2 separate regions of the Homo sapiens genome follow, and region 1 is linked to region 2. Evidence: promoter capture Hi-C in 16 types of primary human blood cells and fetal thymus (Javierre and others, 2016). All regions are on one chromosome and are shown on one strand. The core of a region is centred on a gene start or on the middle of the fragment in contact, and the rest is flanking DNA. Distances in the headings are between cores, read along the strand shown.

Region 1 (7,055 bases), core at 3,429-5,928, 1.0 Mb after region 2:
ACCATTGCTGCTGGGCACATTATAAGCATCATTTGTAGATGAGGCCTATAGTTAGGTTCAATTAGATTCAAAGAGAAGCTGTTTCACAGAATACAAGTCTCCCATTCTTCAACAGAGATGTGGGCTGCTTTTAAACGGCAAGCTCTACAAGAGAGGGCTTATGAAAATCCCTTTCTGTAGCCAAGATGGACACTGTCCTTTCCCTGACACACCAAGCACCAAATCCTCATTTGGAATCTAGCAAATCTCTCAAAAATTTTAAAATCAAAACCAGAAACCCAAGTTTCCATAGAGAACTGGCTAAAAATTGGTATGCAATCATAGCAAGTGACTCAGCACTGCTACAATTACTTCAAGCCATGAACTTGATGCGTCCAAGATTAAGGAGCCTATCAAAATGCACCCAAGTTTCAGGCTGCTTAGTAATAACTATTGTCCTGCCACGAATCCCCATTACTGGTAGAAATTTGACCCAGACACAATTTTAAAAATGCTTACAAGTGAACTGAGACTCCCAGTCACTCAGAGTCTCCTGCTGGGCAGCAGTGAGGTCAGAAAGGTCATCGTACTCATCCTTCAGTGCTTCCTTATCCAGGCAAAATGTGGCAAGGCCCCTGGATGCATCTCTTCCAGCAAAGACCCCATACGGCCCCTCTTCAAAAACAAAACCAAAGATCAATTCTTTATTAGACAGTCAATTTCTCTGTGATTTATACACAGAAAATGGCTTCCCTATTCATCAACATAGCCCCATTTTTGAATATCAAATTCCATTAGGAAACCATAGTAATGCTGATATTCTGAACATTATGTAGGAGACACAGAAAGACCTGTTGTCATTTAACTTTTAAATAACTAAAAGTAAATCAAACTGCTATACATTTGCGTCAGTCTCCTGTGGTTTCCAAATAGCTAGTAAAAAAGTCATACGTGGTTAGTGATCTCTTGGGGTAGTGGTAGTAGGGAATCATACAAGAACATTGAACTGGGAGCCTGACAGTTCTAGGCACTTGGGGCTACACCAGTGAGAGTTATGGTTTCTTAAGATAATAAGCACTGATGTGTACATGAAAACACATTTCCTTATGAATATATTCTGATATGTTTTAATGAAACAAAGGTATCTTATAGAGATCTTTGGTTCCAAGGCTCAATTAAACATTAACTCATGGCATCTGCAGAAGAACCATTTTATAACAGTATCGGTGGTTTAAAAATCTATCCACATTACATAACCTTCACTGTCAATAAATAGATAACACAGAGATCAGTCTTCATTATCTGTTTTTTGGTGGGCTTGAGAAGACTGTGAAAATACTAAAATTTTCATGGAAAAGAGGCTGAATCAATACTGCAAAACAACTCTATAAAACAACTCTATAAAATGTGATTATTTGTGATATTATACTGAACTTTTGTCTAAGAGAGCAGAGAATCATTCTGTGGGTACACAAAGTGGATATTTAGACTTATTTAAATATTGCACAACTAAATGAAGAGAATCCAGTGTACTTTAAACAATGTGTTGTTTCCCCCAAGGCAGATTGAATAGCAGCCCTGACATTAAAATGTTTGTAGGGAACCAAGTATGAGAATAGATCAAGTTTCAATATGGCCTGTTCACCTGAAACCTCAATACACTCAGAAATTTTTTACAAATTTTACAACTTTTAAATGCAAGTAAAATTCCAAAGAAAAATGCTTATTTTTAATCATCATTACATGCTGCCACATTCACTAAAGAAGGTAAAAAAAAGCCCACATTTTTCATAAATGTACACCCCTAGTGGAAATGGCAGCACCTAGTGCTTGAGAATAGGCAAATGCAATGGTTTGAACCTTACCATTTCAGAAATTATGGTCATTGGCTTGGTAGAGTGAGTCTTTACCAAGCAAACCTCATAGAATATTTAAACATAGAATATTTAAACCTCATAGAATATTTAAACATTTAAACAATTAAATGTTCTCTAGTGGGAACATTAAAAGTCTTTTAAAAATACATATTATTCAGTGCAACATATATTCACTAGAACGTAAGCTCCATAGGCAGAGATTTGTGTCTGTTTTGCTCACTGCTATATTCCCACATCTACAACAGTGCCTTGCACAGAATTAACAGGCACTAGAATGACTAATTTTTAGGAATCCTTTACAACATGAAGCATCACTTTCTACCAAGATGTCACGTAGTCATGGGCTCACTGAATGACAGTGCAAGATAGAGACAGAGATCTCACAATAGGCCATCTTTATCACTTTTCAGAGGGAAAACTAAGGCTCTGAGAGAACAATGCTTTGCACAAGGTCACACAGCTAGTCATGACCCAATCAGGACTAGAACGCAGGTTGCCTGACTCCCAGTTTTGTGCTCTGTGCACAGGCTGACATCCTCTCAATGACTCTGCAAACTACAGTCATGATGATGCCTCATGCACATGTTTTCACTCCTTTAATATTGAGCTCAATATTAACAGGTATTTACATGATTATGTTTATTGATAAAGCAACTATGTGTGCTACTCTAAGTGACAAATAATGTATGTGGTTTTCAAATGATTTTGACAGTTACATGCCTATAGAAAGCAGGTATTCTAAAATATCCACAGGCCCGGTGCAGTGGCTCATGCCTGTAATCCCAGCACTTTGGGAAATGGAGGTGGAAGGACTGCTTGCGCCCAGGAGTTCGAGACCAGCCTGGGCAACACAGGAGGGAGACCCTGTCTCTAAAAAATAAATAAAATTTATTTTTTATAATAAATAAATGTCTGCAAGAAAAAACTGAGCTCCTTAACCTTAACACATCTGATTTTGATCAGTTGGACTGGGAGACTAAAATGAATGCCTGAGTTTGTGTACTGCCTTCTGTACTCTTCCCTCTCTCAGGCCAGTGTGGAATGAGCACCGTCCATGTGGACATCCTCTAAGCTCCCTGTGTTTAGAGGAGTCCATATTGGAGGAGCCAAAACCTCTTCTTCCTCATCTCCAAGTATTCTATAAAGCAGGACTTTGCAAGCCTGGCTGCTTTTCAAATTCGCCTGGGAAGCATATTAAAATACAGACTCCCGGACCACCCGAGACTCATTTGCAGCTCTGGCGGTTAGACTGGGAATCTGTATTTTTCCTCAGATGCATCAGGTGATTCTGATACGCAACCAGGTTTGCAAAAACCTCGCCTCTAAGGAACCCATCAGGCCTGCCTTCTCCAACAGCTCAGCAGTGCAGCAGTCATCCATTCTTCATTTCCCTCTGGTTGGCTTTTCCTGATATCCCCCCACCCAGCAGTCTTCTTAGCTCTACTCCTTTTGTTTCTTGGTATCCTCCCACTTCTCCCTCCCTCCATTTTAATTTTTCTTGGCTTCTAATCCTTTCTCTCCTGCTATAGACTAAATACCATATTACCTTAAAAGCTTGCCACGTTACCATTGTCCACCATATTCAGCCTTTATTCCTCCCTCAAACAGCCCCCTTCCTCCTTGTTCACCTTCCAGCCTTTCCCCATCTGCCACACACAGCACAAGCGCACACAGACCAAACACATGCCACACACATACCTGACGCATGACCCATTTCAAGCGCGCATGCACACACCACACACACACACCCCTGATAAATCACATACACTAAACACGCACACACCGCGCATGCACACACCACGAGTGCACACACACATCACTATCCACCGGGCACAAAGCTTTTACCTGCTGCTAATCCCGTCTCGGCGTTTTCTCCCACACCCTCATATTTCAAACCTACTCCCGGTGTCATTGGCCTTCCCGTCTTCTCTAGGTCTGGACCTTTTCTCACTCTCGCCCTCCCCCATGCCTCCCTCGGAACACCCTCATTTCCTTCCTAGAACCCGACACTACCCCCTCCTCCTTCCAGGAATCCCCAAGCCCAGGACCTTCGAAAACTACCCCAACAGCCTGGGCTTTGATGTGTCCCCCCTCAACGCCTTCGAGCTTCGTGGTCCCACCCACCCCCGGCTTAAGCGCCTCAGCCTTCTTTCTCTAACCCCCTCCCAGCGCTGTCAGCGCGGGCCGGGGATCCGCGTCCCTGACTGGCCCGCAGCCCCTCTAGAGCGCCTCTTGTTCCCTGCCCGCCCCGGGAGCCTCCCGGCTCTCCGCCTGCCCGCCTACCCGCCTACCCTAGCTCGCCGCCATTCCTCCCTCCACTCAGGGGCGCCCCGCTCCCGCCTCGCCTCTCTCCCGCCCAGCCCCGTGCCGGGGCCCCCTTCTTTTGTCTCCAAGCCCCCCTCGCCGGCCGCGTACCGGGCCCGTAGAATTTGCGGCCTTTGGTCACATCGAACACCTTGCCGTTGATGGCCATGAGTATGCGCGGGTCCTGGACGCCGTCGAAGCGCCGCAGCTCGGCGGGGGTGAAGTCGCGCCGCTTGAGGCGGGGCAGAGGGGGCGGCTCGTCGTCGTCGCTGTCGCCGCTGGCCGCCGGCTGGTCCCCGCGCACGATCTTGTAGAGCAGGAAGATGCAGAGGCCAAGCAGCAGCAGGTTGAGCGGCGACGTGAAAATCTCATGCAGCAGCCCGCCGCTCTCCAGATCGCTTGGGTCGGCGCCAGTCGCCACCACATCCTCGGCAGCCATGATCTCTGGAGTAAAGGTTGGGCCGCGCTAGGCAGGGATCCGGAACTCGCCACTTTCTCCTCCCTCTGAGCGAGCGAGTGGCGCGCGGGGTTCGGCGGCGGCCAAAGACTAGCCGGGGAGGAGGCGGGGCCTGAGGGGCGGAGCCTCCAAGCCCCGCCTCCCCCGAGGCCACCTAAGCGCCCCGCCCTGCTCGGTCCCGCCCCGCAGCCCTCAGGCCCCCTCCAAAGCCTCTAGAGTCCGGCGCCGCTCCCCCGCGGCCGCGCGGTGCCCCCCTCAGTTCTACCTGGGAGGCCCCAGCCCAGCCTCACGCCATCCTCGCGCCATCCTATAGCTGAGCGCGACGCACGCGCTGCCCTCCTCTGAACCCCTTTTTTGCTCCTCGCAGACCGACCCGTTGGGAGGGCCTCGGCATTGCCGGGCTCTGTGCGAGCGCCCCTCCGCCACCTGATGCGCGCCAGACACCGACTCCCTTTCTGTTGCTGCAGGCTTTTCCCTGCCTCCCATTCTGAAGCCCCTCATCTTCCCCCTGCCGTTCCCGGGCCCTCCAAGCTGTCTTAGGAGACAGGAAACTCATTCTTCGAACTCCATTTTCTATGTTAGAGCCCTACACGACTCATTTTCACCTTGGGAACCCCCATTCGCTCTCCTTGATGGCCCTTCCCCAATTCTCCCCCAGATGCTGTGGGACCGACACCCCCGGGATTGCTAAAGTCAGTGCACAACTCTCCCTATTATCTGGGGAAACGAATCTGATCGCCCAGTTAACTTTGGGTTTGTTCTCCGAAAAACCCTTTTGCAATTACTGATTTGCTCAGTCACCAGGCATTAACAAGCAACGTTCTCTTGTTGCTCTTTTTTCCCCCCTCAGAATAATGTGAAAGTTTCTTTGTTTGGCAGCGTTCTTCTATTTGGAGTCTGTCAGGCTACCCTTGGCAGTCACAATAACCCTGAGCTGGAGCCCAGACAAAGGCGGGAGTTTGGAAGGATCCTAGGCCTGGTCCCTTCCTTTCCTAGGTATTTCATCCGGCCTTTGATGTGCTAACAGGCTGCACAGAAGCAGACCTCCACGGAGGAAGGGGTTGCCTCGTCCTAATCTGGCCCTTTTTCTGGTGGCGGGGGGAGGGGAGGAGAAGAAAGGATAGAGAGGGAAACAAATAATTAAAACCAAGCCGTGCACACATCTGCAGCCCAGAGCAGTACTTTTCCACCAAGTGTTCTGTTGGCTTGCACATAACTTACTCCTCCTCCCAACACGCAAGAGACTTGAGTAAAGATTGGCTTCCTACCTCAGAATTCTAAAAATTTCTGGCAAAAACTGCTTCCATCCCTGCCCCCCACATCTTCTTAAATCATTATAAAGTGCAATGAGCCAAACAATCTTTGTATCGGGCCCAGGCATTTTTCTCAGAGCTAAATTTGGGATTAGCTGAAACAGCCCCTCCAAATCTTTTGTCAAAACTCTTCAATTTAATCATGGAGAAACAGGCTCAAACTGAGGGCACTTGTCTATAGTTAGAATCTATCTCTTTTAACATGTATGGCCAAGAAAATTTAGAAAGCTAATAAACTTATAAAATATTTTCATTTGCAACTAATATGACAAAGGGTTAATATTTATTTGAGAGATCATTTGGATTGATAAGAAAATGTATAAGATTCTAGTCAATAAATGGGAAAAAATAGGAACAGGTAGTTCACAAAAGAGAGCATGCCAGTGGTGAATAAGCATATGAAAAATGTTCAGTCTCATTAGTAACAAAAAGAAAAGCATGGAGATGCCGCTGTCACCTACTACTTTTCTACAGGAAAGATAAAAGGGAAAAAAAAAAGGATAACACACTATTGGCGAGAGAGTGGTGAGACTCACATACGCTGTTGGGTATAACCTTTTATTATCCATAAAAATATTTTCTATCCATTAATCCCACTTCTAGAAATCTGCTCTTTGACCTAGTAATTCCATTTTCAGGAATCCATCCCAAGGAGACAGAAACGCAGACAAATATTTCATTACTAAGATGCTCAGCAGAGATTCATTTTTAATACAGAAAAACTGGAAACAACCTAAATGTCCGACTTCAAATAAAATGGCGAATTAATTCACTTGAATTGTGACAAAACCATTAAAAGGCCATTCAAATATCATCATTCTGGAGTCCTAATTAGGGAAAGGGAATCAGGCTGGTGGGAGCATGAAATAGCAAAAAGAAAAAGCAAATAAGCTACAAATCTCCCTTTCTTCATGACCAAGATGCAGCCTTCCTGCGCAAATAATTCACAATCTTCCCATGCCCAGCTATCACCAGACACCTGTAAGTTAGCTCATTGCGACCTTGGCATTATCAATATTACACAAAGACCTCTTCAACAGACAGCATAAACGCCATCCTATAAAATTTCCAGCAAGCCTTTGTCTCCTGGCAGTTGGCTTCTCTCTTGCAGGCTGCCCTTTGTCT
Region 2 (6,173 bases), core at 503-3,002:
GCATTGGTATGAGAATTTTTTCCACACCAAATGAGTTAGTGAAAATGAAAACATTAACTTATTGGAATAGACTACTCTAGAAAAAGGGGATGATGTCAGTAGAATGCATTGTTGTGTAGCACTAGCAAAACATCATTTTTTGCACTTTGCAGAAGATATTTCCAGTAACAAAGAGGCCAGAGTTTAAAAAAACCCATATATTAAAAATATATAATATCCATACATATTATATATGGATATATTTTAATATATGGATATTATATATTAACAATTAGTTGACAAGTACTTTTAGTGAAGAAATATTTTTATTAATATTCTCTCCCTTTGAAGTTACCAAAAGGGTGTCGATGTCACAATGCTTAAGTTATATACAGGTGGAGGGCAGTTCTGTCTCAAATACCTTCTAAATTTTTCAAAATGATACCTTAAGAACAAACAGCAGGCAAAAAGTCTAAAAATCAAGATTTAAAACATTATTAGAAGGTGTTGCATGTTAACAGTACCAAGGAATTCCAGGTTACCATAAAGGCATTCATCATCAGAAAGGGTGACCTTTGGACAGTTTGCCAAAAACCAGGGCTTCCGAAATACGGGCATTTCGACAGAAGTCGATATTAAGTGGAAAGACAGGTTTTCTGAAAACGGCACGCAATTTTTGTCATTTGCTCCCGGGTTCTTCCAATATGGGAATGCGTCAAATGTACGTGTCCAGGTGACACTGGGACTCGGTTTCGTTTCGTTTATGTGTCCCCCTCCTCCCACTCAGGGTGGCCCCAGAGACAGCACAAGTCGGTCTGAACCCACTCCGAAGATATGCGATTCGACTGTGGAAAAGCCATTCCACATCACTGTGAAACCCTTGACCGAGGGCCAGTTCGGAGGAGCTGGTGACGGTGGAAAGAGATAAAAGCCATCCGCGAGGGAGTGAAACAAACCGACACGCGGCTCCCTGCGGCAGCTGAACCTCATCTCCCTTCCTCCACCTCCCTCTTCCCCATATGGACCCTGCCAGCTGCAACCGAGGTTTTTAACCCCAATTCACGTGCAAAGCAAGCTTCTTGCAAATACAGACGGAGGTACAAACAGCAGAGTGAGGGCGGGAGGAATATGGGGTACCAGGGAAAGTAGAAGGTGGCGAACGGCAGGGTGGGGTGTTGGGGGGGGGATGAAGCGAAGCAGGCGGCATTGTTGTGCCCCGGGAAGGGGACGGAAGGGGAGGATGGGCCTGGCAGAAAAGCTCTAAATCAAAGTAGGGGCTAGGGGAGTAAAAGAGGCACAAAAAAGCAGCGAGAGGGGCGAGGGAAAAGCCAAGTGGGTCTCTGTGATGGATTCCCCAAGCCCCGGGGCCTACCCAGGGCACCGGCAGCCCCTCGGCCCCTAACGGCGAAGGGGACCGCGCCGCGGCCCTCGCGGCTCGTCCCCTCCTTCGCTCCCCGGCCCACACAAAGAAAGAGCCGGAGGAGCTGAGCCTCCGACTCTGCCGCTTCCTGGTTCAAGTGAGGCGAATGCAAACGCAGGCGCGGCCCAGGGACGGAGAAGGCAAGCGCGCTCCTTCGCCCCCTCCCTGATTGGGGCCGGGTCCTCACCTGCTTCCCGGCGCCGCCGCTTCTCCTCCTCCGGACGCGCGGAAGGCTGGGAGTCCCCCAACAAGAAGAAGCCGCACTCCCCAGCGATTCTGCCCCTTCTTTAAACGTCGCTCCAGTCTGGGTCGACGTCGACGCGGCCGCCGCCTCCTGCCGCCAACGCTGCTACAGCTGCCCCACGCCGCCGACAGAGGGCACAGCGCGGGGGCGAAGCGCTGAAGCCAAAGGCGCCCTCCTCTTCCGAGCGCAGGCCGGGGTGGTCCGGAAGGGCCCGAGCTTGAGGCGGCTCCACTTCGGCGCCGTGCTCTGCCTTCGGTTCTTTCCGCAAGGGGGCGGAGGAAGACTGGGAAGCTCTTGTGTGTTCGGCTCTTTCCGGAGGGCTAACGGGTGGGAAAAAAGGAAAGGGAAAGATCGGGTAAGACAGTCGCAAGCAATTGGATGGAAGGGAAGCGAGTCGTTTTCATCGAAATTCAATGTGAACTTCTAGGGCATACAAACTTTTAGAGACTATACAGGTTTCATTTATTTTGCAAGTTTGAATCTGCTCTATTAGACTGTTTGCTAGATGATAAACCATCTTGAAATATAATCAAAATACATACAATCAAATAGAAATTCACAACTTCTTATGGTAATTCAAGTTCTGGGATAACAAGAGAGCAACTACATTACAGTAACTACTTTTAAGAAAGAAATTTAGTGTTTGGACAACTATCTTCTTAATTGAATACTAAATGGTGCAGTACTATGTTAATTCCCTCATTCCAACTAGCATTTACTGACCCCCTGCTTGATCTGTAGCAAAAACCCTATGTTAGGCTCTCGGGAATACAAAAATGAATAACCCAAAGGTCTCTACCTCTTTAGGGAGCTCAGTAGGTAGGTACACAAACATGGACAAAAATATTTGTACAAGGTGTAGAAGCAGAGAGAAGAGAATAGCAAATTGAATGCTGTCATTTGACCTGTATCTTGAAAGATTAATAATATTAACACTTGCATTTTTAATTTTTTATTGTTACTATTTTAATTTTTTATTATTACTATTTCCATAACATTTCATCTTCAGAGGGCTTTAGTGTCTGACACATAGTATGTGTTCAGTGATTGTTTAATGACCGAAAAAATACATTGTGAGTTACATAATTTTTTAAAATCCTCTGGTAATACCCTTCCAACTGAGTACCATAATAAATGAAGCAACAGGATGGGTGTTTGGAGAGCAAAATGTTTCCCTTTTAGGCTGGTTATTGATCGTATTCAACTAAGGAACCAAATAGTAACTTTTTTTCTGCCATAATTAAGGCCATTCACTACCTTCATTATCTTTTTAAAAAGATATATATAGGATAATACTGCATTCATTTCCAAAATCTTAAATTTGTACCTATTAATACCTTGCAGTGGAATTCCTGTGCTTCTTTCCTAAAAAATCTTGCTGAAAATGTCCATCAGGATATTAGACTGAAAACAGATGTAACTATATCTAATTTTCTCTGACAGGAAATCAGACATGGATGTCATCATCTCATCTACCTATCCCTAATCTATTCTTCATCCTCCTCAATAAAGTAAAGCCACATGGTATAATAAAACATCAAAGTGGTATAATATAGCTGTATTTCACATGGAAATATGCAATTCCTTAAGCTCTTCTCCAAGATTTTGTATTGTGGGAAAACAAACTATGTGGGAATTATTGCATTATTGATTTTTGATTAGGACTTAGCATTATGAAAAGTTTCATTGTTTACTATAAAGATATTTCATGGCAAATAGAAGTATGCTGTTGTAAAATAAACTAAGGCAGATTAGTATTTTTCCTGGCAACTGAGTACTTAATAACCATTTTTCTGAGTTATCCTCCCCAAAACTTAGTAGTAAAAAAAAAAATCTTAGTAATTAGAACAAAGTATATCTTGAAAGTTTAGGATCTATTTATCTTTCAGTGGCTTAATTGATGAAAACTAAAATGAGACATATCTTTGAAATACAGATCACAGTGGCAATAGATGCCACTCTAGATATCATGTTTGTTGGTCAGCTCTCAGTAAACTGGAAGGCACAATGCAATTTATTTTGTACCAGCATTTACATCACTGAGGCTGGCAACAGAATTGCCATGCCATTGTCACTTTCCTGAAAGTATTTTAAAAGTTTGGAGTACCAACTAACATATGATGAAACCTGTTCATTCAAAGCACAGTAAACCTTCTCTTCCCTTCTTGCTGTATCTCTCACCCCCTAACCAAGCAAAAACTAAACAAGTTTAAAAGCTACCTATAATGAAAGGGGGTCCAATGGTCAGGAAAGGAATTTTATTTGTAGGAAAGCAGAACAGACCAAGAAGCCTGAGTGGCCTTAATAATTGTCTTTGGGACAGGATCACTGGAAAGTTTAATTAATTTTCTGTTTCTCAACTAGTCATTTCACTTTTACTTTTGTTTTTAATCTGGAGGGCTTAACCCTACTTCAAACAACCCAGTAGTTTGAACTCTATTTCAAACAACAACAACTCACTTTGGGAGGCCGAGGTGGGAGGATCACCTGAGGTCAGAGAACAACCTATATCAAATGGATTTGGAGGTATCAATTGTTTCACATTCTAGAAAGGTTTTATTGGCTGAAAATGGGATGAGTTAGGTTTTATAGCCGTATTGTCAGCGTTTGCTTGCCTTTTGACCTTGATTGTGAATTCCATGAGGGCGGTAACTGTCCTCTCCTGTGTTAAAATGCCAACAATCTTGTGGGTGCTTAATATATATTAATTGATGACAAAAGATAAAGTGACACTCGTTCAGTCTTAGAGCACTTCCTATATGTTATGCTTATGGTTACAGATTTGGTAAGGTCACTCCATGGGATCTGCAGAAACCCTAGTAAGGTAGAGTGGAAGAAACAAAGTCTTAAGCAGAAGATGTGAGTGGGTTGGAATTCTGATACTGCCACTTCCTAGCTCTTTGATCTTATGCCTGATTCTTCATCTGTAAAATAGGGATAATAATACCTTCCCACAGAGTCACTTTGAGGATTAAATGAATCAACTATGCATAGTGTCAAACTGCTCACGGTTTCCAGAATATGCCATGCAATTTACTGCCTTCAAGTCTGAGCCTGGAGCCCTGAGCTTGGAATAGTCATTCCCTTCATAGCCACACCTCGCTTAACCTGTTGTCTGGTTAGTTCCTGGCAAGTGCCTGGTTTTCCATAAAAACCCAACTCAAGTACTAACTTATTTGTGAAGCATCCCTTGGCCCAACAAATTGTAGATAGAGATGGTTGCTTAATGCTGAACGAATGAGTGTCTGGAACCCAGTAAGTGCCAAATATATGTTGCTTTCTCACCACTATCCCCTTTTCTGCTTAATCCCAACAAATCTCTCTTTAAGTGACCTGTCTAATACTGCCTATTGCCCTTTTTTCTTAAAACTTTCCAAAGTCAATTGGATAGGGATATATAACTCTCCTACTGGAAAAGGAGTCGTCGATAATTGCTAACAATAATACAATCTACCAAAAAAAGCAACAGACAGCTTATTCCAAACTTGAACAAAATTGAGGGAATATACTACCTATGAGTCATTTGTGAAAATTACTTGGCAATATATGAAGTCAAATCAAATAAGAAATGAGTCCAAATAAAGAATTAAGAATGGAGATTTTGCAGTAAGCCAATCTATTTAAGTGGAAGACTAAGTCCAAACAACAGATTGATTATGACTATGTGACAATGAAACTTATAAAGCCCGACACTGTAAACTTCATTCATTTTTTCAATACATATTAAACATATATCATTTAGTATTTACTCTGTGCCAGGCAGTGTTGTAGGCAGTGTTGTAGGCACTGTGGATATAATTATCATCAAGTTGAGATATTGGTCTTCATGGAACTTACATTATAATGGAAGAGACATACAATCAACATTTGTATATATATAATATAAATATATAATACAAAAACAGAAAGTAGTAAGTGCTATGAAGAAAAATAGAGCAAAGGGATAGAGAATGATGAGGGTGTTATTGTAAATTGTGTGGTCAAGCACAGCCTCTCTGAAAAGATGATGTATGGCCAAAGAATGGAATGAACTAAGGGAAAGGGCCATATAAATATCTGGGGAAGAACATTTTAGGCAGTGGAATGTGTCATTGCCCTTCAACCAAAGACTACCAGAAACATACCCATAGTTGACAGATTGAGTTTATTACTCTTACTCCAGGGAGGGACAACACACACTATAGGTAACTATGATGTGTTTCAATAAGAAGTTGTTAGAATGAACCTATTATAGGATTTGGACAATTTGGGGGAAGGTCTAGGAATCAGGAGTTCCGTCTCAGATACATCAGAAAGCAGGGGCAATTGTATGATTGCACATTTCAATAAATCTTATTTATAGGGAGGGCAGACTAGAGGGAGGATAAAGCTGTACATTAACTGGCAAAGTAGCAGTGACCTATCTTGGCCAAGAAGGGGTGTTTGGTGTTTTCTGGGTGTCACAGTGAGCTTGTTTTTGTCTGTGCTTAGACAAGCTTATGAAGTGGTCTTGTTTTGTCTCACTTGATCAGGCTCCCAGTGATCTTGTCT

What was found. The method cuts DNA at HindIII sites, captures the fragments that hold promoters and counts their contacts. A CHiCAGO score of 5 or more calls a contact.
Region 1: a contact is called between the fragment with the promoter of PGRMC1 here and the fragment with the promoter of ZBTB33 in region 2, in 2 of 17 cell types (activated CD4 T cells and non-activated CD4 T cells). The highest score is 7.8, in activated CD4 T cells.

Annotation. Positions count from the first base shown.
Region 1 is chrX:119,233,908-119,240,962 of GRCh38, reverse strand. PGRMC1 (progesterone receptor membrane component 1) reads right to left here and starts at 4,678. Exons shown (of 3, transcript NM_006667.5): 1 at 4,272-4,678; 2 at 499-654. The coding sequence starts at 4,599. It also overlaps the pseudogene NUDT19P6. RefSeq lists silencers at 4,066-4,215, 4,616-4,875, 4,906-4,955. The HindIII fragment of the contact is 8,490 bases long and covers 3,697-7,055 here.
Region 2 is chrX:120,246,391-120,252,563 of GRCh38, reverse strand. It overlaps ZBTB33 (zinc finger and BTB domain containing 33), which reads right to left and starts at 1,752. Exons shown (of 3, transcript NM_001184742.2): 1 at 1,587-1,752. It also overlaps a transcript of TMEM255A not described here. RefSeq lists an enhancer at 1,207-2,045. The HindIII fragment of the contact is 5,064 bases long and covers 1,057-6,120 here.